7 separate regions of the Homo sapiens genome follow, and regions 2, 3, 4, 5, 6 and 7 are each linked to region 1. Evidence: promoter capture Hi-C in 16 types of primary human blood cells and fetal thymus (Javierre and others, 2016). All regions are on one chromosome and are shown on one strand. The core of a region is centred on a gene start or on the middle of the fragment in contact, and the rest is flanking DNA. Distances in the headings are between cores, read along the strand shown. Region 1 holds the start of TBX15 (T-box transcription factor 15). Region 2 overlaps SPAG17 (sperm associated antigen 17). Region 3 overlaps SPAG17 (sperm associated antigen 17). Region 4 overlaps SPAG17 (sperm associated antigen 17). Region 5 overlaps SPAG17 (sperm associated antigen 17). Region 6 overlaps SPAG17 (sperm associated antigen 17). Region 7 has its middle 38 kb from the start of SPAG17.

Evidence for each region. Contacts are between HindIII fragments. The CHiCAGO score rates a contact against its expected background, and 5 or more counts as called.
Region 2: a fragment that was not itself captured here is called in contact with the fragment with the promoter of TBX15 in region 1 in 2 of 17 cell types (M1 macrophages and endothelial precursors); the score reaches 5.8 in M1 macrophages.
Region 3: a contact is called between a fragment that was not itself captured here and the fragment with the promoter of TBX15 in region 1, in 1 of 17 cell types (M2 macrophages). The highest score is 7.6, in M2 macrophages.
Region 4: a contact is called between a fragment that was not itself captured here and the fragment with the promoter of TBX15 in region 1, in 1 of 17 cell types (M2 macrophages). The highest score is 7.5, in M2 macrophages.
Region 5: a fragment that was not itself captured here is called in contact with the fragment with the promoter of TBX15 in region 1 in 8 of 17 cell types (M2 macrophages, endothelial precursors, M0 macrophages and 5 more); the score reaches 15.1 in M2 macrophages.
Region 6: a fragment that was not itself captured here is called in contact with the fragment with the promoter of TBX15 in region 1 in 2 of 17 cell types (M2 macrophages and endothelial precursors); the score reaches 9.2 in M2 macrophages.
Region 7: a fragment that was not itself captured here is called in contact with the fragment with the promoter of TBX15 in region 1 in 1 of 17 cell types (M0 macrophages); the score reaches 5.3 in M0 macrophages.

The regions. Positions count from the first base shown.
Region 1 is chr1:118,986,288-118,989,592 of GRCh38, reverse strand. TBX15 (T-box transcription factor 15) reads left to right here and starts at 1,250. Exons shown (of 8, transcript NM_001330677.2): 1 at 1,250-2,002. The coding sequence starts at 1,798. RefSeq lists enhancers at 1,317-1,849, 1,850-2,383. The HindIII fragment of the contact is 3,656 bases long and covers 1-2,868 here.
Region 2 is chr1:118,070,233-118,073,537 of GRCh38, reverse strand. The region is part of intron 17 of SPAG17 (sperm associated antigen 17); the gene reads left to right. Among named protein-coding and RNA genes, the nearest start is that of SPAG17, 110 kb to the left of the region's middle. The HindIII fragment of the contact is 1,518 bases long and covers 1,080-2,597 here.
Region 3 is chr1:118,107,797-118,111,101 of GRCh38, reverse strand. All of the region lies in intron 4 of SPAG17 (sperm associated antigen 17), which reads left to right. Among named protein-coding and RNA genes, the nearest start is that of SPAG17, 76 kb to the left of the region's middle. The HindIII fragment of the contact is 5,584 bases long and covers 1-3,305 here.
Region 4 is chr1:118,126,751-118,130,055 of GRCh38, reverse strand. The region is part of intron 3 of SPAG17 (sperm associated antigen 17); the gene reads left to right. Among named protein-coding and RNA genes, the nearest start is that of SPAG17, 57 kb to the left of the region's middle. The HindIII fragment of the contact is 3,703 bases long and covers 1-3,305 here.
Region 5 is chr1:118,142,816-118,146,120 of GRCh38, reverse strand. The region is part of intron 3 of SPAG17 (sperm associated antigen 17); the gene reads left to right. Among named protein-coding and RNA genes, the nearest start is that of SPAG17, 41 kb to the left of the region's middle. The HindIII fragment of the contact is 2,678 bases long and covers 233-2,910 here.
Region 6 is chr1:118,160,673-118,163,977 of GRCh38, reverse strand. The region is part of intron 1 of SPAG17 (sperm associated antigen 17); the gene reads left to right. Among named protein-coding and RNA genes, the nearest start is that of SPAG17, 23 kb to the left of the region's middle. The HindIII fragment of the contact is 4,228 bases long and covers 1-3,305 here.
Region 7 is chr1:118,221,122-118,224,426 of GRCh38, reverse strand. No RefSeq gene overlaps it. Among named protein-coding and RNA genes, the nearest start is that of SPAG17, 38 kb to the right of the region's middle. The HindIII fragment of the contact is 3,922 bases long and covers 1-3,305 here.

The sequences.
Region 1 (3,305 bases), core at 1-2,500:
GGCCTCTCAGTCTGTCCCCCGCCCCCGGGACCCAGCTCTTTCCGGCTTCTTTGCAAAAGGATAGAACCGTCTCGACCAGGGCACTAGGACTGGAAGATCGGGCTGTGTCTAGGCCGCTGTCCGCGAAATCCGAGACGTTTTTTCAGCTTGGCTAGGACCGACTTCGCTGCCGGTTTGAGCTTTCTCTGCACTCGGGGGTCTCCTGCCGTCCTCGACCGGTGGCGTAACTTGGGAAGAGGTGTGGGAATTAAGAATGGCCAGGAGCGTTGGATTTTTTAATTCCTTAGAAATCCATGTTGAATGCAGTCCTTAGAGATCGCAAAAGGCAGGGGGCGGCCAGGGGGGAGATCAGCTGGCCGGGAAAGCCATGGTCTTGAGGTAACGGGATTTGCAGGGAATTTTGAAAAAGCTCCTTCTCTTCTGTTAAAGTTCCTAGCTGTTCTTGCCTGTCACCTCTCCATAGGTTCTCTGCAACAAGAGCCCGGAACAGGCGAAGCGCAGCCCAGCGTTCGGGCCGTAGGGAAAGAGAGTATTTGCGGCGTGAGGGGGCCCAGCTGGAATACGCCTGAGGAGCTCGCCCTAAACCCCGCGCTCCGCCGCCCGCCCCTTGCTCTCAAGGCGCCTGTGTCTCCTTCTCCACCAGGTAGAGCTGGAAGGAGGAAGCGGTCTTTGAATTTTCAGTTACAAGACCCTGGTTAGTAACAGGGCTTTCTGTTTGCTTGTTTGTTTGTTTCCTTTTGCCTTACCCAGATTTGCTTAGAAAACGTTCAGTAGGAACATTAAAACCTGTGTGGCGAAATCCAGGAGGAACCAGAATATTCTAAAGCACCTAGGGGCTGACGCGAAATTATCAGAATCGTTTTCTGGCATTTTGGACAGGTTAACATTTTGTCAGAGCCCCAAAATTCCAGATCTGCAACTAAAGTGACTCTGGACTTGCAGCGTCTATGAGACCAGCAGATCTGGAAGAAAAACGTATGGATTTGGGATTTGCAGGAGTTTGTAAAGGCGCAGATCAGACCTCAACTTTCAACTGTCCTACCTCCCTCTTGGAGTAACCCATGGGGAAACCGGGAAGCCAGGGGTTAAAGTCGGCCCAGGAGCATCCAGGGGACGACTGGCGCTGCGCTTTGGCCCGGGCCTCAGTCTCTCCCTTCCTCTCATTGGTTCGCGCTCTCGGAGTTTCTCTTGTTCCCTCCTCGCTATTGGTTGGGGGCTGGCTTTTTTCCCCCTCAGTCTTTTTCTTCCTCCCCCTCCCTCTCCCTCACCCCTCGGACAGGAGCGCACCGCCTGCCCCCTGTTCCTCGGGAAGGGAGGAATTTAGCGGAAAAAAAAGTTTCCCAGAAGTTTGGATCACAGGGAGGACGGGAAGGCAGAGAGGAAGAGAGAGAGAGGGGGAGGAGAGAAAAAGAGAGGGAGGGGAGAGAGAGAGAGAGAGAGAGAGGAGAGAGAATAATAATAATAACAAAAACAAGATGAAGTTCAGTGGACACAGTCTGTGAGCGCCTGCCCCGGTGGGTGGGAAGCAGGACTCGGGCGCTCATGCAGCGAGCGGGCGGCGCTCGGGGCGCTAGTTCCTAGCAGCTGGGCCAGCGTAGGGGCGCAGGTCGGATCCGGCAGAGGAGGGCGGAGGAGGACGCAGGGGGAGGGTGGAGAGACCCGCGAGCCGCAGTCTCAGCCTCGTCCGACGCGCCTCCGCCTCTCCCGGGCCGGGCCCGGTGGGCGCTCAGAGCTTGAGGGCGCCGGCTGCTCCCTCGGTAGCGGGGGCAAGCGGAGGCAGGGGTGTGGGCGGCTAAAATGAGTGAAAGGAGAAGATCTGCAGTCGCCCTGAGCTCGCGAGCACATGCCTTCTCCGTTGAAGCCTTGATCGGCTCAAATAAAAAACGGAAACTGCGAGACTGGGAGGAGAAGGGGCTGGACCTGTCTATGGAGGCGCTGAGCCCCGCGGGCCCACTCGGAGACACGGAGGACGCGGCGGCACACGGCCTGGAGCCTCACCCGGGTGAGTGCGTCGCAGCCGACCGCGGGAGGCGGGCGGAGAGGGGACGCCGAAGGGCCAGTCGCCGGTCGCGGGTGAGGAGCTAGGCCCTGCCATTGACGCCCTGCCTTGCCCCAACATAGGTTTCTGTTTCTTCGCGCAAATGCCCTGAGCCTCCCTAAATTCACCGGAACCAATTTTTGGGGCTGGACTGAGCCTTGCATTTTCGTCGCCAGCCTAAGCAAGGAGTCCTGTTTGTTTGCATTTCTTTTTCTTTTGGGTGGAGAGCGCAGCTTTCTGGGTGTCCGTGGATGAAGGGCTGCCGGTCCCTGGGATTGGGAGGGGCGCGGGCCGAAGGCAACGGCGGGAGCCGAGATCTAGGACTCGCTTCTGAGAACTCGGGAGGACTGGCGCGGCGTTCTCCAATCCAATACCTCAGTCTTCGGGGAATGACCAGTTGTCTCATTTAGCCTTCAACCTCGTCCTTGCCTTTCTCCCACCAACTTTTCGATGGTGGAACATAATTATATTTCTACTCCTTTGGCGTTTACGGAAACAAGAATGGATGTTAGACCCCTTACTCCTTGGGTCACTCTTCAGGGCCCACATCTCTGTGTATTTAGGGTGTGGGTACGATTGATTTGTGTCTCAGATCCTACAGTAACCCATGTATATTATGTGCACGGAACATGTAAAAAGCAGGGGGGATGTCATGTCTGTATTTTAACAGAACCCTAGGAGGGGAGAAGCCAACTTTAACGTTTTGTGTTAAGTGCCAAGATTTCAACTGTGCAAAAACAGCCCGGGGGAACAGCTGTTGTCGGAAGAATCTTGAGTGTGCGCGCGCGCACATACAACGCTCGCAACTTGGTTTAGCGGTTTCAGAAGCTTTCCAGCCCGGACTTCTAAAACCATGCTGGAAGGTGCTCCTGCTGAACAGCCAGAGCTGGGGAGTAGACCCCGCTTCACACGCTGACAAGCCCGGGGAGGGGGCAGCGGCCTGCACTGGGATAGAGACGGTCTGGGGCTCAGGAGCTTGGGGATCTCAGCCACAAAGCTGTCCAACTCAGAGGAGGGACAGCTGTCGCTTACATTTTCTCTTTAGGCAGTGACAGTTCAATTTCCATGCTCCCGAGGCTAATAATAATGCGATTAGCGGGTGACCTGCAGAGATAGAGTTTTATGAATTCTCCGTGTTTTTGTGGCCCGTTACGGTATTTGAGTTTAGTGCTGGGGAATTATTTTTATTAGTCGATGAAAAGAAAATTAAAAGGAGATTTATTTCGACCGTCCAAGCCTTTTCCTGTATTTGAATGCAAGTGCTTGT
Region 2 (3,305 bases), core at 589-3,088, 920 kb after region 1:
TGGGAAAAACCTTATTTTTTTCCATATTGTTTATCCATTCTACTCAATTTCACCACATTTCACAGTATTTTCTGTTTTGATTAACAGTTCAATGGAATCTGTGGTAGCCAACATTCATTGAGCACTTACCATGTGCCAGGCACTGATTAATATGTATTATTAGCTCATTTAATCCTCACAATAACCCTGTGAAGTAGAAACTATGTAAGCAGTAAGAAACTGAGGCACCTTGACCAGTAGTGACTTTTGTCCAAGGTAACATGGCAGCTAAGTGAGAAGCTAGATATAAACCCAGGAAATCTGGCCCTGGAACTTGTACTCTTAACCACTCAGCAAAATAACAAGTAATCCCAAACCTAAATCCTTTTGTTGTGTTTAGCTTTTACACAAAAACTTGTCCTCTTTTGGTTTTGTCTTTTTAATTTGATTTTTATTTTTATCAAAGTTTTACAACGTTTTTTAAGCCAGAAAGTTCTACAAAGTCTTACTATGAAAAATAGCAGCCTCCTTCCCCCATCCCCACCCCACTCCACCAAGCCGCAGTTCTCAGAGGCAAAAATCTTCAGTGCATTTACCCCTTTCTTTTGTTACTTTACTCGGTGATCTCTAAATAGCAAGTATATTTTGTTTAGTTTTAGTTTTGTGACATCATTACCAATTGATTCGCTCTTGAGAACACAGCTTTGCCCACCCCCATCCAACACACATGTGCATGTACAGGTACAGGCTCACCCACCCCCACATTCACATTAGCACTTCTCCATTCTCTGATACTGTTAACAATATCGTAATTTTTGGTTAGATAAGTATTCAGAACTCACTTTATTTCAGTTATGTAAGTGCTATTCACAGCTGAACTGTGTGGTATTCTATAATTACATTTCCTGTATGGGTACCATTTTTATTTTCTCTGCAGTTAATAATTGCCTCTTTTTCTATTTGTTTAGTTTACTATGTATTTATTATTAACTTATCCCCAAATTCTCTACTACTGAGTAAGTCACTCAATACATTCAAACATAACAGATATTCTATTAGTTTTATTGTATTAGTGATATCTCTCCCATATTCCCTAAGCTTGCTGCACAGCTGTGGTCCTGGGCCTCCCTTTACCGTCATCCGGGCCACACCCATTCCCTTCCTTTCCAGTTAGATACCTGTTGCCTTCATCCCATGTGTTCCCTCTCCGGTTACTCTCTTTTTTGTAGAGAATCATCTCTTCCAGTAGCTTCCTTAATTAAGATAGACGGGAAGTAAATTTTTGAGGCATTCAATATTTGAAAACAGCTTAATTCTATCTTTATATTGACTGACAGTTGGGCTTTATAGTAAATGCTAAATTAAAAAGCATTTTTTCTCAATACTTTAAAGACAGTTTTTGACAGTGTTCTGACTTCCCAGATTGTCCTTAGAAAAATAAATAAATACAATTCTGATTCCTAATCAGTTGTTTGAGTATGTTGTGATCCTCTCCCTGGAAGATTTTAAGATCTTCTCTTTGTTCCAATGCTCTTGATTTCCTGTTGATATGCCTTTGTGTGGTTCTGTTTCTATGTATTGTTCTGGCAAGCCGGTGCAATCCAGAAATTCCTGTATTTATATTTTGGGAAATTTTCTATAATCATTTCTTTGATAATCTCTCCTCTCCATTTTCTCTGTCCTTTTTTTTCTGGAAATCTTATTACTCTGGTGTTGGACCTGCTAGACTGAACCTGCAATTTCCCTTTCTTTTTTCTTTTAGTTTCCATCAATTTATCTTTTGGCTTTGCTCAATTTCCATTCATTTCTTATATTGAGCCCTTTATTCCTGTTATTATCATTCTGATTTCCTAAAGTTATATTTATAATTTCAAATTACCTTTTTAAAGAATCATTTCACTTTTTCTTTTTTTTGAGATGATGTCTCGCTGTGTCGCCCAGCCTGGAGTGGCATGATCTTGGCTCACTGCAACCTCTGCCTTCCAGGTTCAAGTGATTCTCCTGCCTCAACCTCCCAAGTAGCTGGGATTACAGGCACTTGCCACCACACCTGGCTGATGTTTGTATTTATAGTAGAGATGGGGTTTCACCATGTTGGCCAGGCTGGTCTTGACCTCCTGACCTCAGGTGATCCACCCGCCTTGGCCTCCCAAAGTGCCGGCATTACAGGTGTGAGCCACTGCATTTCTGATATAATACCTTCTCTTATCTCTATGAGGATATTAAAGTCCTCTGAAGTTGTCTTCTCCATGAATTATCTCTTTTTCCTCCAAGTTTCTTTTCTCATTTTTTGTCTTTTTTGTTTCGTCTTCATTTTTCACATTGGAGGGTAATATATAATATTGTCCTCTTTGCTCATATTAATAATGAAACAATAAAAATATGATAGGAAGTGCTATATGAGGTGGGGTGGGGGGTTGTCAATAACTGAGTTCATTGTTGGGTGATTTGACTGGGAGATTTCCATAGGAGACTCACCATTGTTGGTATGTCAGTTCTGTTTTCTTGGGCCATTTAAATTCTCCATGAAAAAAAAAAAGTCTAATTTTCTGTCTGAAAGACATAAGCCTTCCTGTCAGTGTTTTGAGAGCTAGGTAATGAGGGAAGGGTATTAAGCTTCTGACATTTATTATCTAGATCTGCATTATCCAGTGTGGTAGCCACTAGTCACATGTAACTTCTGAATACTTGAAATGAATCTAGACCAAATTGAGATGTGCAATAACTGTGCTATACACTATATAAGTGCTATTACACACTCAATTTCCAAGACTTTAAAAAGGTGGCATTGATTACTTTTACATTGTTTATATGTTGAAATGATAAGAATTTTTATCTATCAGGTTAAATATAATATATCATTAACATTTATTTTACTTGTTTCTTTTTACTTTTTAAAATGTGGCTACTATAAAATTTAGAATTGCACATGTGGCTCACATTTGTGGCTCACTTTATATTTCTATTGAGCAGTGCTGATTTAGGCTTTTACACAATTCCCTTTTTTTCTAGAATGTACTTCTCTGTCAGTGTGCGTTGGGTCCACTGTTCTTAGAACCCATTCATCTACCATCTGTAGTTACCCTCTTCCCCTCTGCTAGAGTGGGAGATAGGCAATAGCCCAGTTGCTCAGAATTTTAATGGAATCCAGGGGCCTAACTGCTTCTTAAAAAGATTTTAAACTAATCTTCCTATTTTCAGTGCCACTTTCACCCCACTTGCAGAGGTGACTAGTATTTCCATATCCTGAGACTTTCTATATTTCTGCACACAAATGGGGTTGCCTGTGGTCTCTCCTAAAATTAATCTTAGGACTTGGCTTTCTG
Region 3 (3,305 bases), core at 538-3,037, 880 kb after region 1:
ATAGTTAGCTATCATTATTGACTATTTGGCACAGAACTAAGCCCTTTGCACATGTTATATCATTTAATCTTTTAAATGACTTTATGAGGTACAGAGTATTATTCTGAGTTTGCAGATGGGGAAACTGAGGGTATGAAAAGTTAAGGAATTTTCCCAAGGCCAAACAGCTACTCTCAGTGGAAGAGCTGGGATTCAAATCCAGAACTGTCAGACTCCAAAGACCATGCTCTTAACCCCCATACATATCCTTCCTAAGTGTGTCTCAATAATTATGAAATGGCACTCTTGGCTCACAATCAGTAGAGTGCTTGCCCAGAGACATTTCCCTGTAGGACCAATGGCTGTGCTCAGTGATGTACTCACAACCATCTGGTTCCATTAATTACATTGCATTTAACATCCTCAGGTTAAATAGGGGGACAGTGGTCAAGGGAAGGAACAAAACTCACCAAGGAGGAATGCCCTGAGCTAACCAGCCACTGATTCCAAAGGAAATCCTGACTTAATTTCCAGTCCTGCCCCCCACGCAGAAATGGCTCAGTCTCTGGGGGAATCTCTTAAAACTGGACATCCAGAGATTATTCCTAATGTCCTTCTGCATGGTAAGGTAGGATAGCATTGGCTGATCTAGTACTAAAGTCTTTCATAGACTACATAGAAAATACAGAGAAAGAAAAGCAAAACATTTGCAATGTGTAACCCTATTATAATTAATGTTAAGATTTTGGCATTTTTCTTTCTGTTTTTTTCTGGGATTTGCTTCTTTACGCAGCTGTAATCATTGTAAAAATGCACCCCTTTTTCAGTTAAGATAGATTATAATTTCTACTCATTATCACAGTGTCCACTCTATCATTATTACTGGTTTTGTGATGTTTTATTGACTATCATAATTTTCTTAACCATTTCTCTATCATTGAGCATTTAAGTTATTTCAATTTCTTTTCATAATAAACCATGTACTTTGCAGTATAGAAGTCTCCATATTTTGGATAATATTCTTAGCATAGATTTATTAAATTGGATTAATGTTTAAAAATGTTCCCATAACCTTGTATGTTCAAAGTGAGCCCTATGGCCACTTAGACCTAGTTCTCCATTTAAAAAAGAAAAAATGGCTCCTGGTCAAATGAGCATGGAAATCACTGTGTATTAGATACAACTCTTGAAGATATTTAAGAACATAATAGCTAATTAAAGATGAAGGAGTTTTGTGAAAACCACTATATTTAATATTGTTTAACCTACGGTCTCTCAAATTTATGTGATCTTATACCTTTGTTTAGCCTATCTCTTGTCCCCTATGATAGCTTGTTTATGAGATAGGGTGATATCTTGAAAGAGAACTAGAGGAACACTCAGAAAACCCAGTTTCTCATAAACTACATAATAGAGTGAATTAGTTACAAACTCTGTGAGTATGTTTTCTTATCTATATCCTCAACAATACTATTCTGAGGATCTTATTATAAATTTTATATGAAACATTGTTATACATGAATATGTATATGCATTATTATTATTATTATTATTATTATTATTATTTTGAGACAGAGTTTCACTCTGTTGCCCAGGCTGGAGTACAGTGGCACGATCTCGGCTCACTGCAACCTCTGCCTCCCAGGTTCAAGTGATTCTCCTGCCTCAGACTCCCAAGTAGCTGGGAATACAGGCACGCGTGCCACAACACCCGGCTAATTTTTTTTTTTTTTTTTTTTAGTAAAGATGGGATATCGCCATGTTGGCCAAGCTGGTCTCAAACTCCTGACCTCAGGTGATCCACCCACCTCAGCCTCCCAAAGTTCTGGAATTGCAGGTGTGAGCTACCACACCCAGCCTACATTAGGCAGGAGAATCGCTTGAATCTGGCAGGCGGAGGTTGCAGTGAGCTGACATCGCGCCACTGCACTCCAGTCTGACAACAGAACAAGACTCCGTCTCAAAAAAAAAAAAGAATAAGATGAAGTATAGATATATATCATCAGTTTCACTGACATTTACCATTTATCTTCCTTTCATTGTAAGGAATTAGGAGAATGAATACTTATTAATTATATTTGAATTTTGACATCAAGAAGTCATTTAGAAATAAAATATGATCTAAAATATTTTGAAGCATCCAATAACTAGGTTGCCCTATTATAGAGAAGGAGAATTTTTTATTTTTCCCTTTAAAAAGTGAGAATAACTTAAGATTAAGTGTTCTAGATAGGTGTCACTTTATATTCAACTGAATATGTGAAATGCCAACACTTTTTTTGGTTATTGCTGAGACAAGAATCTCACATATGCTATGTAACTTAACCGGTTAAGAAATCTCTGTGCCTATCCAAAGCCGTCTCACAGTAGGAGGCATCTAGATGCTTTCTGCACATACTGCATTAAAAAAAAAAAAAAGTAATCTGTGGCAAACTTGACTCTTCCTTCATATGCTGGGGAACATGTGTTCCTCAAACATCGTGGAGAGAGGCACTTTTTGGATATGCCCCTCCTAAAATTTGCCTTGAATTGACAAGAGTTCCCTCTGAATTTTTAAAGTTGTGAGCTAATGACCTTAGTATGGGAACATGCATGCCATGTTATCCAGAAGCAAGAAAGGCCAGAGAAAGAGTTTGTATGAACTAACTTGAGTTTATAACTTAGGGGGTCAGCTTTGCTGAATGCGCCTGATCTGGTTAACTCCATTCCCACTCCCAGATTTCAAGACATAAACCCATAAGTGAGAAGGGTTTACTCAGAATGTGAGAAAAAGGAAATGAAAGATAGGAAATGATTTTCCTATGATTGGGGCTTGGTACAAAAGGATATTTCACTTTGAAACCAAGGTAGAATTCTAGGGGCCAACCAGTCAATCACTCTCCAGAATTAAAGGGACAAAGAGACTGTCCTGGTTCAACTTCAGTATGAAGGATGGGAGGAGTGAGGGATAGACTGAATCCAGGAGAGGAATAAGTAGACCACCATTATGGTCAGCCATGGGGAGAGAGCAGAATGCACTGGGTAGGGTAAAGAACATGTTCAAAAATCCACCAAAGACATCTCGACCTGGATCCGGAACCCAGGAAGACCTAGGTACTTCCATTCAGTTTTATTGTCTACATATATTTTCTCTGCACCAGAGAATCCTTTCTTTACCCAGGAAATTCTTTACATAGTAATACATATTCTACCAACTGAAGATATAACACTGTTAAATGGAAAAATGCAGGACACCAAGTTATATAGAGAGAACAATAACAGTTATGTAAAAATGATGCAGAAAGTTAATTCAAAAGAATGCATTGCACATCTTCTTCACTCATCTT
Region 4 (3,305 bases), core at 282-2,781, 860 kb after region 1:
ACTTAGAAATTAACAACAGCCTAGAACATCATCCACATCAAGCTGGAGAAACACTACAACTTTTTGATAATTGTGGAGAAACCAAGAACTTAGGGTAAATGAAGACAGGGCTGATACACTGAATACATTCTTTGTCTAGCAGGACATTAGCAGAAATCCCACTCCAGGACTCCAGGCTGTCCTCTGAAAGGGGCAGCTTAGTAAGTCTAAATGGAAGAAGAAGAGGAAGAGGAGGAGGAGGAAGAGGGAGAAGAAGAAGACAAAGAAGAGGAGGAAGAAGAAGAAGGAAAGAAAGAAAAAGAAAAAAACAAAGAAGGAAAGAAAAGAAAGGGAAAGAAAGAAAAGAAAGAAAGAAGGGAAGAGGAAGAAGAAGAAGGTAGAGAAAGAAGAAGGAAGAGAAGGAGGATGGGCAGGGGGAGGAGGAGGAGAAAGAAATTAAGGAAATATAAATGCATAACTGAGAGTTAGCAAGGGCAAGGGTGAAACTGACAATATGTGGGCTAAATACATTATTATGAAAGGCCACATAAGAAACCAGGTACAAAACAATGGTTCTCAAATCTAGCGTATATCAGAATCACCTGAGGTCTTGTTAAAAGCAAACACTGCTGGCCCTACCCCCAGAGTTTCAGATTCAGCAGGTCTGCGTTGGAGCCCAAGAGTTACGTTTCTAACAAATTGTCAGGTGATACTGATGCTGCTAGTCTGGGAAACACATCTTAGTATTGTCTGGTTAATTTTTAAAATTCTATTAATTAGAAGGCATAAATCTCTCCATATCAGTATCAATTTGTTCATCTTCTAAGTTAACAACAACAAAAATTAAAGTTGGCTTAAACAATTAGGAAATGTACTGGCATGCAGACGTAGAAGTCCAGGCAGGCTTCAAGGTCAGCTTAGTTCAGGGGCTCCAGCCCACTTCCCTGCTGTGCTCTTACCCCTTCCTTCATCTGTGTAGGAGCTTCAGCTTCCCGAAGAAGGTAAAGTGGCTGCAGCAATCTCATCCCTTAAGACTCTTCCCAGAGCTTTGTCATGACCAAGGAAACCAGATCAAGCAGCCCCAGAAAACCATGCCTCATTCTACTGGCCTGAACAAAATCACATGCACCTCTTGAACCAATCATGGACAAGGGGGGTTAGGATTATTTTTAGTGTGAAGGGGCCCACCCATGGAGCTGTGTTTCCCCTGAGTCACATGAGCTGAATGAGAGAGAGGGCAATGCCTGAAAAAAAGTCAGATTCTCCTATGAAGGAAGGTGACATGATGGAGGAGCAATCAGCAACCTCTAGTCTGAGAAGTGGAACATGGTATCCAAACCAAAGGCTAAATTAACACATCTAGTGCTCCAGTGTTGGGGTGCAGGAAGTTCAGGGACCAGCCATATTCAGATAGCTAAGCAGGCAGCATGAGTCAGTCAGTAACTAGTAGGGTCTCAATCACTAGTCTCAGACTGAAAGCAGGATTTTTAGGAAAATGATTTAAGATTTAAAGAGAAGGAAGGTAGAAAATGGAGGTGGCTGCCAGCCTGAGTCATTTCTACGAAGCAGGGAAATACTGAAAGCCTTTCCTCTAAGAACTGGAACAAGATAAGGATGCCCACTCTCACCACTTCTATTCAACATAGTACTGGAAGTCCTAGCCAGAGCAATCAAGTAAAAGAAAGAAATAAAGGGTATCAAAATTGGAAAATGGGAAACCAAGTTGTCCCTCTTTGCAGTCGACACGATTTTATACATAGAAAAACCTAAAGACTTCACAAAAAACTTTTAGAACTAATAAATTTGGTAAAGGTGGATATAAAATCAACATACAAAAATCAGCTTTTCTATACACCAATAACAAACTAGCTGAAAAATCAAAAAAGCAATCCCATTTGCAACAGCTGCACAAAAATAAAGTAAAATGCCTAGGAATCTTTTTTTTTTTTTCTTTTTGAAATGGAATCTTGCTGTGTCGCCAGGCTGGAGTGCAGCGGTGCGGTCTTGGCCCACTGCAACATCCGCCTCCGGGATTCAAGCGATTCTCCTGCGTCAGCCTCCCAAGTAGGTTAGACTACAGGCATACGCCACCATGCCCAGCTAATTTTTGTATTTTTAGTAGAGACAGGGTTTCACCATGTTGGCCAGGATTGTCGCAGTCTCTTGACCTCATGATCCACCCACCTTGGCCTCCCAAAGTGCTAGGATTATAGGCATGAGCCACTGTGCCCAGCCACCTAGGAATCAATTTAACCAAGAAGATGAACTATCATTACAATGGATACTACAAAACACTGTGAAAGGAACTGTAGAAGACACACAAAAAAGAAAAGATATCCTTTGTTCATGGATTGGAAGAATGAATCTTGTCAAAATGACCATACTACCCAAAGCAGTCTACATATTCAATGCAATCTCTACCAAAATACAAATGACATTCTTCAGAACGAGATAGTTTAGATATTTGTCCCTACCCAAATATCATGTTGAAATATAACCCCCACTGTTGGAGGCAGGGCCTGGTGAGAGGTGTTTGGATCATGGGGTTGAATTCCTCATGAATGGCTTGGGCTATCCCCTTAGAGATAAGTGAGCTCTTGCTCTGAGTTCACATGAGATCGGGTGGTTTAAAAGTGTGTGGCACCTCCCCACACTCCCATCTTGCTCCTGCCTTCACCATGTGAAGTGTCTACTCCCACAGTTGACTGTGAGTTTCCTGAGGCCTCCCTAGAAGCTGCGCAGATGCCAGCACCCTACTTCCTGTACAGCCTACAGAACTGTCAGTCAATTAAACCTCTTCTCTTTATAAATAATCCAGCCTCAGGTATTTCTTTAGGGCAGTGCAAGAAAGGCCTAATACACAGAAATAGAAAAAAAAATCCTAAAATTAATATGGAATCACAAAAGACCCCAAATTCTCTAAAGCGATACTAAGCAAAAAGAACAAAGTGGAGGCTTCATACTACCTGACTTCAAAATGTATCCCAAAGCTACTGTCACCAAAATAGCATGGTACTGGTATTAAAAGAGATACACAGACCAATGGAACAGAATAGAGAACCCAGAAATAAATCCATAGTTACAGTCAACTGATTTTTGACAAAAGTGCCAAGAACATACAATAGGGAAAGGAAACTTCTTCAATAAATGGTGCTGGGAAACTGGATATCCATATGCAGAAGAATGAAAGTAGACCTCTTTCTCTCACCATACACAAAAACCAACTCAAAATGGATTAAAGACTTAAATGTAAGATCTAAAACTATAAAACTAGTAGAAGAAAACATTGGAGAAATACTTTAGGACATTGATATAAGCAAAGATTT
Region 5 (3,305 bases), core at 322-2,821, 840 kb after region 1:
TAGTTGATAGGGGTTTACTTATCCAATTTATCTGAAATCAGAACCAACCATCCTAAAAGTTTTTAAATTCCACTTCATGTTTCTTTTCATTTCATGATGGTGGTCACCATGCCTACCAACCAGGAAATGAGCCTTCATCCACACAAATGGGCCGTGATTTATGTGCCTGTGACTTATTTATAAAAGACGCATTAGGTCATCACAAAATGAAAAATAAAAAAAATGAAAAGCTTACTGAAACAAAAATTGTCTATAAAGAATAAAAGTTCTTATGCTCTAGTTGATGACTCACTTATTTCAAAACAATTTTCCAAGTTTCTGTACAATAAAGAACTTGAACTATCCTAAACATTATGTGATATGGTGCAATTTTGTAAATGCAAATAATTATTAATTTTTTTTTTACTCCTGTCAGTAAAAAAATTCTCATATTTTTAAGAAAATAATTTTTAAAATAACTTTTTAACAAATATATCTTAAAATATTTCTACGGGCCTTTCTATTGCAACCGGGAGACCATCAAATGTGGAAAGATTTTTCTGATATTAGATTTAAAAATAATGGACCAAATGCAGTTTAATAAAATGTAGAATGCAAATTAGATCTTCAGATCTAATGCATTTCACCATACTTTAAGACACTATGCTAGTGCCTCAGATTAGTATGCCCAGATGTAATAGTTCCATTTTTTGACTTCTGTTTCCTGGATGTATAGAAATTTTTCTCAGGTCTTTTCCAACATGTATTTATTAGTAATTGACAAGTGAGAACACAGGCTTAATTATAATCTATTTTGCCACTCTTTTTCAGATTCCTGATATGAAACTCATTTTTTAAACAGTGCCTTGAATTAATAGTCAATTTAATAGAATTGTAAGCCCTTATATTGGGGGTGGCCCTTGTCAGAATGAAAAATGGAAAACTCATGCTTCAGAGATAGGTACAAATAATATGTGAAAACATTTAAGAGGTTTGAAGTTATTAAAATGGCAGCTCTACTGGGAACAGAGAGAGCAGTATGTCATGGAAGAAACGAAGGAAAAGGGAGACAGGAAGCATTCTCTGGCCTTTTCAATCCCGCGCTTTAAAACAAAACAAAAAAATTCTGGAAGAATTGGAAGCTAGCCAACCTAATGCCGTTATTTCATAGAGCTTAGGGACACACCAGGAAATTGCAGGCCAGTTAGTTTAACTTCACTTGTAGGAAAAGTATTAAAAACTGCTGCAGGAGATCAAGTAAAAGGATGCTTAGAAAAGCACAGCTTGATTAAGGCAAGCCTGGCCAACGTGATTTTCGGAAAGGGAAGGTCATGTCTTAGGAACTTGTTGAAATTCTTTGAAGCTATTATGGCCAGTACAGTCTTCAAAGAATACAGCAAGACTCAGAATCTGCGGATCTTTCCGTTCCACATCAGTCCTTCAGGGATGCCTACAGAACGTGGCCCACACCAGGGCCTCGGCACTCCACATTTAGAAACCACTATCAAAATAGCAGAAATAACCCCTGATGGAACATTTTTTAAAGCTGGAACCAATTAATACAACCTGATATTTATAAATGTAAAATAATGAGACTTGGAACAAAATTTGGGAATATCAAGCTGTAACAAAGAAGTGCTACGTTGGGACTATAAAAACAATCTAGGAGTTCTTGTGCCAAAATCTGGGTTTTGGAGGCATTTCTTACCCGAAGAAGGAAAGAAGAGGAGAAATAGTAATGCTAGAAACGGTTACAAAGGGCTATGAAGAGTTACAAATGAATGACTTTTGTCAAGATGGGGAAAAGAGCAGTCAGATGTGTTAACAGCCCTGGGCCCCCACATTTCTGGAGGGCACCAAAGCAGCTCAGCAGAGAAAGTCAAGTTCAAGCTAGTCACTGAGGGGCAGAAGGTCAGGGCTCCATTGCTTTAGGAATGGGCTCCCAGGGTGTGAATACGTTTGCCTCCCAGATCAGAAACCTGGAGTTCTATTTTCAAAGAAAAGCAGAACTCAAGTAAAGGCATTCAAAAACAATTCAAATCATGCCCCAGCTCTCTTCCACCCTGGGGGTCAGGCAGCTGGCCAAGCCCATGTGGCAAATAGTTAGCAGTCCAGGAGAGGGGAGGTAGACACTGGGGAGGTGTGGTGGTGATGCAGTGGAGCCGGGGATCCAGCAGCAGGAAGCCCATGCCACACAAGGACTGGGTTGCTGGCTAGGACCTGCAGGCAGTGGGCAAGGCAGGAATCTCATCAGGAGTTCCAAGACAGACCTCAGTGGAGGGCCAGCCACAAGAATAAAGTGAGGTTCAGCTAATGAAGAGAAGTCATCACAGCTTCTCCTCCAGGTCTGGGCTGGGGTGGTTTCTGAAACCTCTTAACACCCTATACTCTACAGACACCAGGATTGGAGGGGTGCTGGGGAAGGAATCAAGAAGATTGTATCATTCTGTTTCTGTATTTAAAACTGTGAAAAATCAATAATTACATATGGTGATAATAAAAGTTACCACTTATTGAACACATGTATTCCAAGTCTTGTGTGCTGGGTAGTTCATATATATCAACTAACCTAATCTCTTTTTTTTTGGCTGGCTTTTTTCTTTTTGTGGGGAACAGGAGCGTGCTATGTTGCCTGGGTAAGTCTTGAACTCCTGGGGTTCAAGCTATCCTCCCGCCCCTGCCAGCCCAATTACTGGGATTATAGGTGTAAACCACTGCACCTGGCTAACTTAACCATCTTAACAACCTTTCAGATACCTATGAATGATGAAATTTGAATCAGACTGGTTAGGTAACTTGTTGATTCAGAAGTCTGTTTTTTCTACTTGCATCACACACAAGCTGAGAATAAATAGTTTAAATTCTGGAAGTGACTGTTGTGGTTTAATATGTCTTCAATATAAGCTACTGCTAGTTACTTAGAATTAAGCTTTAAATCTCTCAGTAGTTCTATGATATGTTTATTACTTTTCCTTCTACTCAGGCAAAAACATGAAGGTATATCTGCAGATGATGAAGAGATCAAATAATTTCAGTTGGAGCTTTTAAGCCACTTCGATGAGTGGCTTTTGCCCACATGTTTGGGTCAACAGGGTTTTTTAATTCTTATGGTTAAGATTTATATGGTTAAGTGACCATGTCTTTTCTTTGGAGGATGAAAGAAAGAAAGATGGAAAATAAGAGGGAAGTTAATACATATTCAGCAGAGATCAAAGTGTGGAGAGACCTTTCTAAAATCTCACTAATTAAAACTAATTAGAGGTAAATTCATCTCCAGAGTACCTACCACTAGTTTGGTGAGCGATATACCTAGTGGTTAAAAGTAT
Region 6 (3,305 bases), core at 225-2,724, 830 kb after region 1:
TCACAAAATGGCAATTCAAGTCCCCAACATACAAACACCTTGGGAGAATAGGCAAGGCAACCATATCTGGTAATGAGGACATAATCAGTGATCTTCCAGAATGCAATTTCAATAGGGTGTATGGTGGTGGTGCTGGTGGTGAGGGAAGAAGTGTAGTGGGAGTGTGGGGATTAAGGACATTATGGCCTTTCAGGATGTGGGAGCTTTTGGTGTAGGTCACATGTTTGGGGGAGTTTGACTATGAAGTAAAAAGGTCATAAGGGAAAATGGTTAGTGGGGAGTCTGGGCTTAGGTGAAGATGGCCATGTATGTGTGAAGTAGGGATAGAGAGGAAAGAGGAGTGGATTGAAAACAAGGCGAGGCGAGGGAGAGATGGGAAAATTGAAGGAACACAGTTAGAGAAGAGGTCATTTGCTCTAGTAAAAAAAAAAAAAAAGGAAGAAGGAATCAGAATGTCTTCTTCAGCCCAACAAAAAGGAGTAAGTTCTTGGGGCCAGTGAAGGATGTTTTCAGATGGAAAATGTAAAAAGGAGAGGAAACCGCGGCAGGAAAACCTTGTGCTTCTCAGGCAGTGGGAATGAGGTCACCACATAGACAGACAGTGGACAAGCAGGACATGGACAAAGAATTCCTTCCACTAATTCTTCAAGTGACCTCTGCTCGTGAGGCTTTTCCTAAGACACAGGGAGAGATGGGTTCTAGGTCAATGCGTATCACCTTGTATTATAAGTGTTTCTATATCTGTTTCCTCTACTAAACTGTTGGTCTTTTGAGAGCAGACACTTTTTTTCAGTACTTTTTTAAATGCAGAAAAGCACGAAAAGATAATGTGGCAAGCACATTTGTACCCTCACAAAAAATTATTTTCTTTTTTGAAATAAACCTGTAAAATTAAAGCTGAAGAACTCTTGTCCTCACCCCCATTCTATGTTCCATTTCTTTCTCTTTCTTCTCAGAAGCAAACACTAATATGGATGGAATACATATCCTCTTAGCCTATGTATCTATTTATCTATATTCATGAATAACATATAGTATTGTTTATTGTATGATTTCACTAATAGTTAATATTTACTGTGTGAGTACTTATGTTGCATGTGCTGCCCTAGAAATAAAGGATGTAAACATAAATAAGACAAGAGCAATTAAAATAAATGAACTAAATCTGTATATCTCAACATGGATAGACATCAAAACATAATGTTGAAGGAAAAAAAACAAATTGCAGAATTAGTTAATACAATATGAAACAATTTGGGCTCCATGTTATTCAATTTTGCATCCTTCATTTCTAGGGCAGCACATGCAACGTAGGTACCCACGTAGTAAATATTAATTATTAGTAAATACATTTGGATGAACAATATGATAATAGAAATGAACAATTTGTACAGTGCTTCATAGCTGCGAAATACGTTTACATGTAATCTCTTTTCACCTTTTTTGTGTATTTCTCTTCCCAGGCTGATGCTGTTTAAGGGAAGTGATTATGCCTTATGCCTATTCCCAATGCCATGCCCATTTCAATTTTTGTAACCCCTCAGTAAATATTAGCTGAATGAATGAAGGACTTTCTGCTCTAAGTATTATTATTATTTTGCTAAGGTCCAGGTTGTGAGTACTTAAATGTTTTTCCAAGGCCATGTGGTTGGAATCAGGACTAACAATCAGGTTTTCTGATACTAAATCCAGTGCTCTTTTTATTACACCATTGAAAGAGCTATTGTAAGGACTCTATTAGGGAATCAATATGAGAGGAATAATTATAATGAATTACTGCCCTAACGTATCCAATAAATAGATTCCATGTACCTGTGTAATTGGAGAAAATTAAGAACCATAACCAGATCTAGGGCTTGAAATTTATTCTAATCATTGACTGGGGATACTTTGTCACGTGGTCCTTAAAGGGGTTTTATATTATGAAGGAGATATGTGAATTATGAGGGTGTGTAGGATTACACAAGTGAGGGAATGAGTGGGAAGCAGTTTCACTCAAGTAGAACTGCTCTTGCTAAGGTCAGCAGTGACCTTCTAATTGCCTTTGACTACATACACCATTCCTCCCCTGGCTTTAGTGACACCTTCCCCCCAGTTCTCTTTCACCTGTCCTTCTTGTTTGCCTCCTAAGAAACCCTTCCCTGGCCGGACGCCGTGGCTCACGCCTGTAATCCCAGCACTTTGGGAGGCCGAGGCAGGCAGATCATGAGGTCAGGAGATCGAGACCATCCTGGCTAACACGGTGAAACCCTGTCTCTACTAAAAATACAAAAAATTAGCCAGGTGGGGGCGGGCGCCTGTAGTCCCAGCTACTCAGGAGGCTGAGGCAGGAGAATGGCGTAAACCCGGGAGGCGGAGCTTGCAGTGTGCCGAGATCCTGCCACAGCACTCCAGCCTGGGCGACAGAGCGAGACTACGTCTAAAAAAAAGAAGAAAAAAAACCTTCCCTATTAAAAAAAATGATAATTGCATGAAACTCTAAAGAAAGTTACAAGCATTCTCAGAAGAAAGATCTCAGGAACTACTTCAGACACCTCCACCCTCCACAATTTTATCTTCCCTCCCACTAGGATTGATTGATCTTGATTAATACTTTTACCCTCCACTTGTCTGTTTAAGGTCTGACCTCATTTTCCTTACCCTATGACAGGTCTCCACTGCCTTTTACTTTCCTAGCACAATTGCTATGTCCTGAGCAGCTGGAGAAGTCAGGATTACTGCACAGCTCCAGCTCTGGACACTAATTCCCTCAGTAAAACCCAGTCAGGGCCACTGATGTTAAATAGCCTTTACAAGAAATAGTCTCTAGAAATTTATTTCATGATACAAGCATTGTTTGCTCATTTTCACACTCCCATCTTAGTCATTTTGTGTATCCCTTAGTTTGTTACATCATATACATTTAGTCATACTAATGTAATAAATGCTTGTTGAGCTGCACGACTACTCATTTTTGTTGAATTGAGGTAGGGCACAGATTCCCTGACACTATTCTTGCTCAAGTTACAGTCTCATAGTTTTTCTGACACACCCCTAGGGAGTTATTGGAGAAATTCCCATCATTCCCTGCTAGCATAATACAAACTCAGCTCCCTAGAAGATCTGGCACTGCTCCCTGGATCCTCTTTCTTTAACTCTTCTTTCTCACCCTATCATTTGAAGACCATATTTGTAGACCTAAAAATCAGAACACATGGTCAGACACATCCTGCTTTCAGATATTAGGGATATTATGAGATATGTAATTGGGCTGCCAAAATATTCCCATTGCTTGGACATTTTATTGAATTTGGGGAAGAATAAGA
Region 7 (3,305 bases), core at 337-2,836, 770 kb after region 1:
ACCTCAACCTTCCAAAGTACTGAGATTATTGGCATAAGCCACCATGCCCAGCAGTTACTTAGATGCTTATTTTATGTTCTTGCATATCCTGCTAAAATATAAACTCACCGAGAGCAAAAGACACATATTAGTGTTTTGTAAGCATCCCCCATTCCTCCACCACCCTCAGAATATGCTTAACAAATATGTTTGGAATTCAATCTGCATTAAACTGCTGATCTATCAATAAAGAATCCATCCTCATTCTTATCTCCTTGAAGAAAGGAAGGCAAATCTATACAGCAAAAAATGGATCAAACCAAGGATCCTCACAAGACCTTGGCTCTTAGAGCTTCTAGAATCAGCTATTGAACAACTATCAACTTAAGTGGATAGCTGATGCATAAACAGTTAAGAGAACCGCAGGTATTCAAATATTCCCAATGCAGGTATTTGAATGATGTTGTTAATTGTCCCAAGTGTGCATTTTTAATAGCATATACTCATACATATACAAACACAATGAATATACATAGTTTTTATTCCCTCAAACCCAGGGAAACAGATTACTGTGAATCTACTACTCTAATCTCTCACCTGTGGTCACTTGGTGGCCACAAACACCTGTTCTTCTCTAGGTCTCACTGAAAATATCTACAAGTGGTGGAACTGAGATTTACAGCTATCAACCTTGACAGTTTAGTCACCAATAAAAGCAGCTCCTCTATGCCCCACACTCACTCCACCCCAGGCTGAGTCCATCAAAGGTGCTGTGTATTTCATGCAAATTTCCATGACAGCAGCTCTATGTGGTCCACGCATAGTTTGCCTGAGCAAGGGACAGAAGGTCTATCCTCTTCCTCCCAATGAGCTGATCCTATTTCTCCTAACAACTGGTATGGGGCTGCCCCCTGGAGGTTTAAGAAAGCCTGTTCCCTTCAAGGCAGGCTAGAGGGTCTAACTAGAGGCATTTCAGATGTTGAAACTGGCAGACATCATCTGACCACCTAATCCAACCTTTCAGAAATGAGGATATCCAAGTTCAAACATAGGGAATCAACATGCGCAGATGCAATACTTTTCAAAGAGCCCACCGAGCAATGTGATCACCAGGAAACTAACTTACTGCAGCTTTTTAAAACTAGGGAAAGTGGCCTTACATTACCTACTTAAGATCCAGATTGTTCAGGGAGTTCGTTTCTTGATAGCATTTGTTGAACATCTACTGTAGATAAGACCATGACCTCCAAATGTGTATATATGCTATGCCTAGAAAAGCCATTATGTTTGGATATCAGTGATTTTCTCCAGCTGGCAGGATAATAATTGATTTCTGTTTTCTCTGAGAGAATCAATGAAGAAAAAGAAAAGGAAAAGAAAGCACACTATTGGAATCCTAGGAGGCAGATTCCAGTTCTTCTTAACTGGTGAGTTTGAAACCAACACAAGCATTAAAGAGAAAGGAAAAAAAAAAAGGCATTGGCCTGTAACTGGTGCATATAAGATTCTTGTGCTCCCCTATAGAGGGAAAAAATGATTTAAGATTTGTTATCATTTCTAAGCAACAACATACTCTTGAACTCATTTTGAAATAGCTACAACTCTATTTTTTTAAGATGTAAGTTGCTGGACTTTATTGCACATTGACTTAAACTGAAAGTTGTCCAAATGCCTTTGAATAAGAGATTTAAAGATGAGGGCCATACCACTTTCAGAGGGAGACTTTCCTTCTCAGTGGAACTAAGCGGTATTTCCAAAATATCTGGCTGGATCTTAAAAGTCATTCATGACAGGTGATAATTGATTACATATTGAGTTTTGCCAGAAACTCTAATGTCATTGGCATATAGAGACATAGCATTAACACAGTGTGTATGTGCAGAGGACTGGAACACAAATAGAAGGCTTCATAAATTAAATTTAATGTTTCGTAGCTCTTCTTTAAACAAAGTAGGTGTGGAAATTATTTTAAGTTAAAATTTATTTCTGTGCAAAACAAAAATCAGTCTCTAAGTGTATATGGGGAATAAGAAAGCAGAATTTAAGGTCAAGTGTAACACTAATTGAACGTTAAAAGAAAGAAAATATGTTTTAATATTTAAAAGAGTCAAATATTGAAATTTCAAATAATTTCAAACATGGGCTACACATAAAATAATAATAAGATAATTATGACAATAACAATTACACATGCACATACCATTCAATAGAAAAATTGTCAGAGGGTGACTTTTGATTGGATAAATTGATCCATGCAATTCACCTGAAACTTAATATCATCATTTCTATTTTATTGAAAGGTCAAATGTCTCCTGTCATTCAGAAAAATTTCTGCTAATATGCCTAAAAAGAGAAGAATTTGGAGATAGATAAGGTAACTCAGTGAGTTAGAGTAAAATTAAACTCTCACATTTAAGACCATTGCAATTCATTTAAAACATCTTCAATTGCATTCTGCCTTTTAGAACAGAAGTGACAAACCAACTGACCATGGGTCAAATTAGGCCCAGACTAGCTTTATGAAGCCTACACAATAAATTTTGTTTTGTTTTGCTGTTGTAATTTTTGTTGTTCCTTTTTAAGACTTTTTCAACAGCCTTACAAAGACTATATACTTTATCAATTTATCCACAGGCTAACTATTGTCATATCCAGGCAAATTCACATATTTATAATAACTGGTTTCTATGTGCATTTTTGTTTGTTTTTATTTTGCTTTGTTTTGATGTCTGCTCCAGAGCAGTTTATTTCTTAAACTGCCAGCTCCGATTCATTTGAGGCTGTGAAATATATTCAGTGGTTCCTGGATCAGCATTGTTTTCCACAAACTAGAATAGAGTAGAAATTAGCAGAGCATCACAGGTATAAAGGTAAGCCTTATTTTCAAAAACTGTCACCTCGTGTGTGTGTGTGTGTGTGTGTGTGTGTGTGTGTGTGTGTGTGCATATGCACATAGATTATATACATAAGGGAAAATGCAATTCTTACACTGGCCAATAGTCCACAAAGCCTAGAAAACACCGTTCTAAAGAGTCTTAGAGGGATTAAGATATTCCTTAAGATTATATTCAGATTATGTTTTAAAAAAGAAAAGAAAAGAAAGAAATGCAAATTGAATGCTGGCTCAAGTGAGCTCAGAAAAGTCTTAAAAGAGCTTTTTACTGTAAAGTCACTACTATCGCAGGATTTAAAATTTTTAAGTCATTGACATAGATCCAAATACAGACAAGGAAAATGTTTACCTTTGTAACATATCAGCTCTCACTTAATGATTTATGGTAGCAAAGAAAACACATCTGGAACCTTGGAGAGAAAAAAAAGTCTTC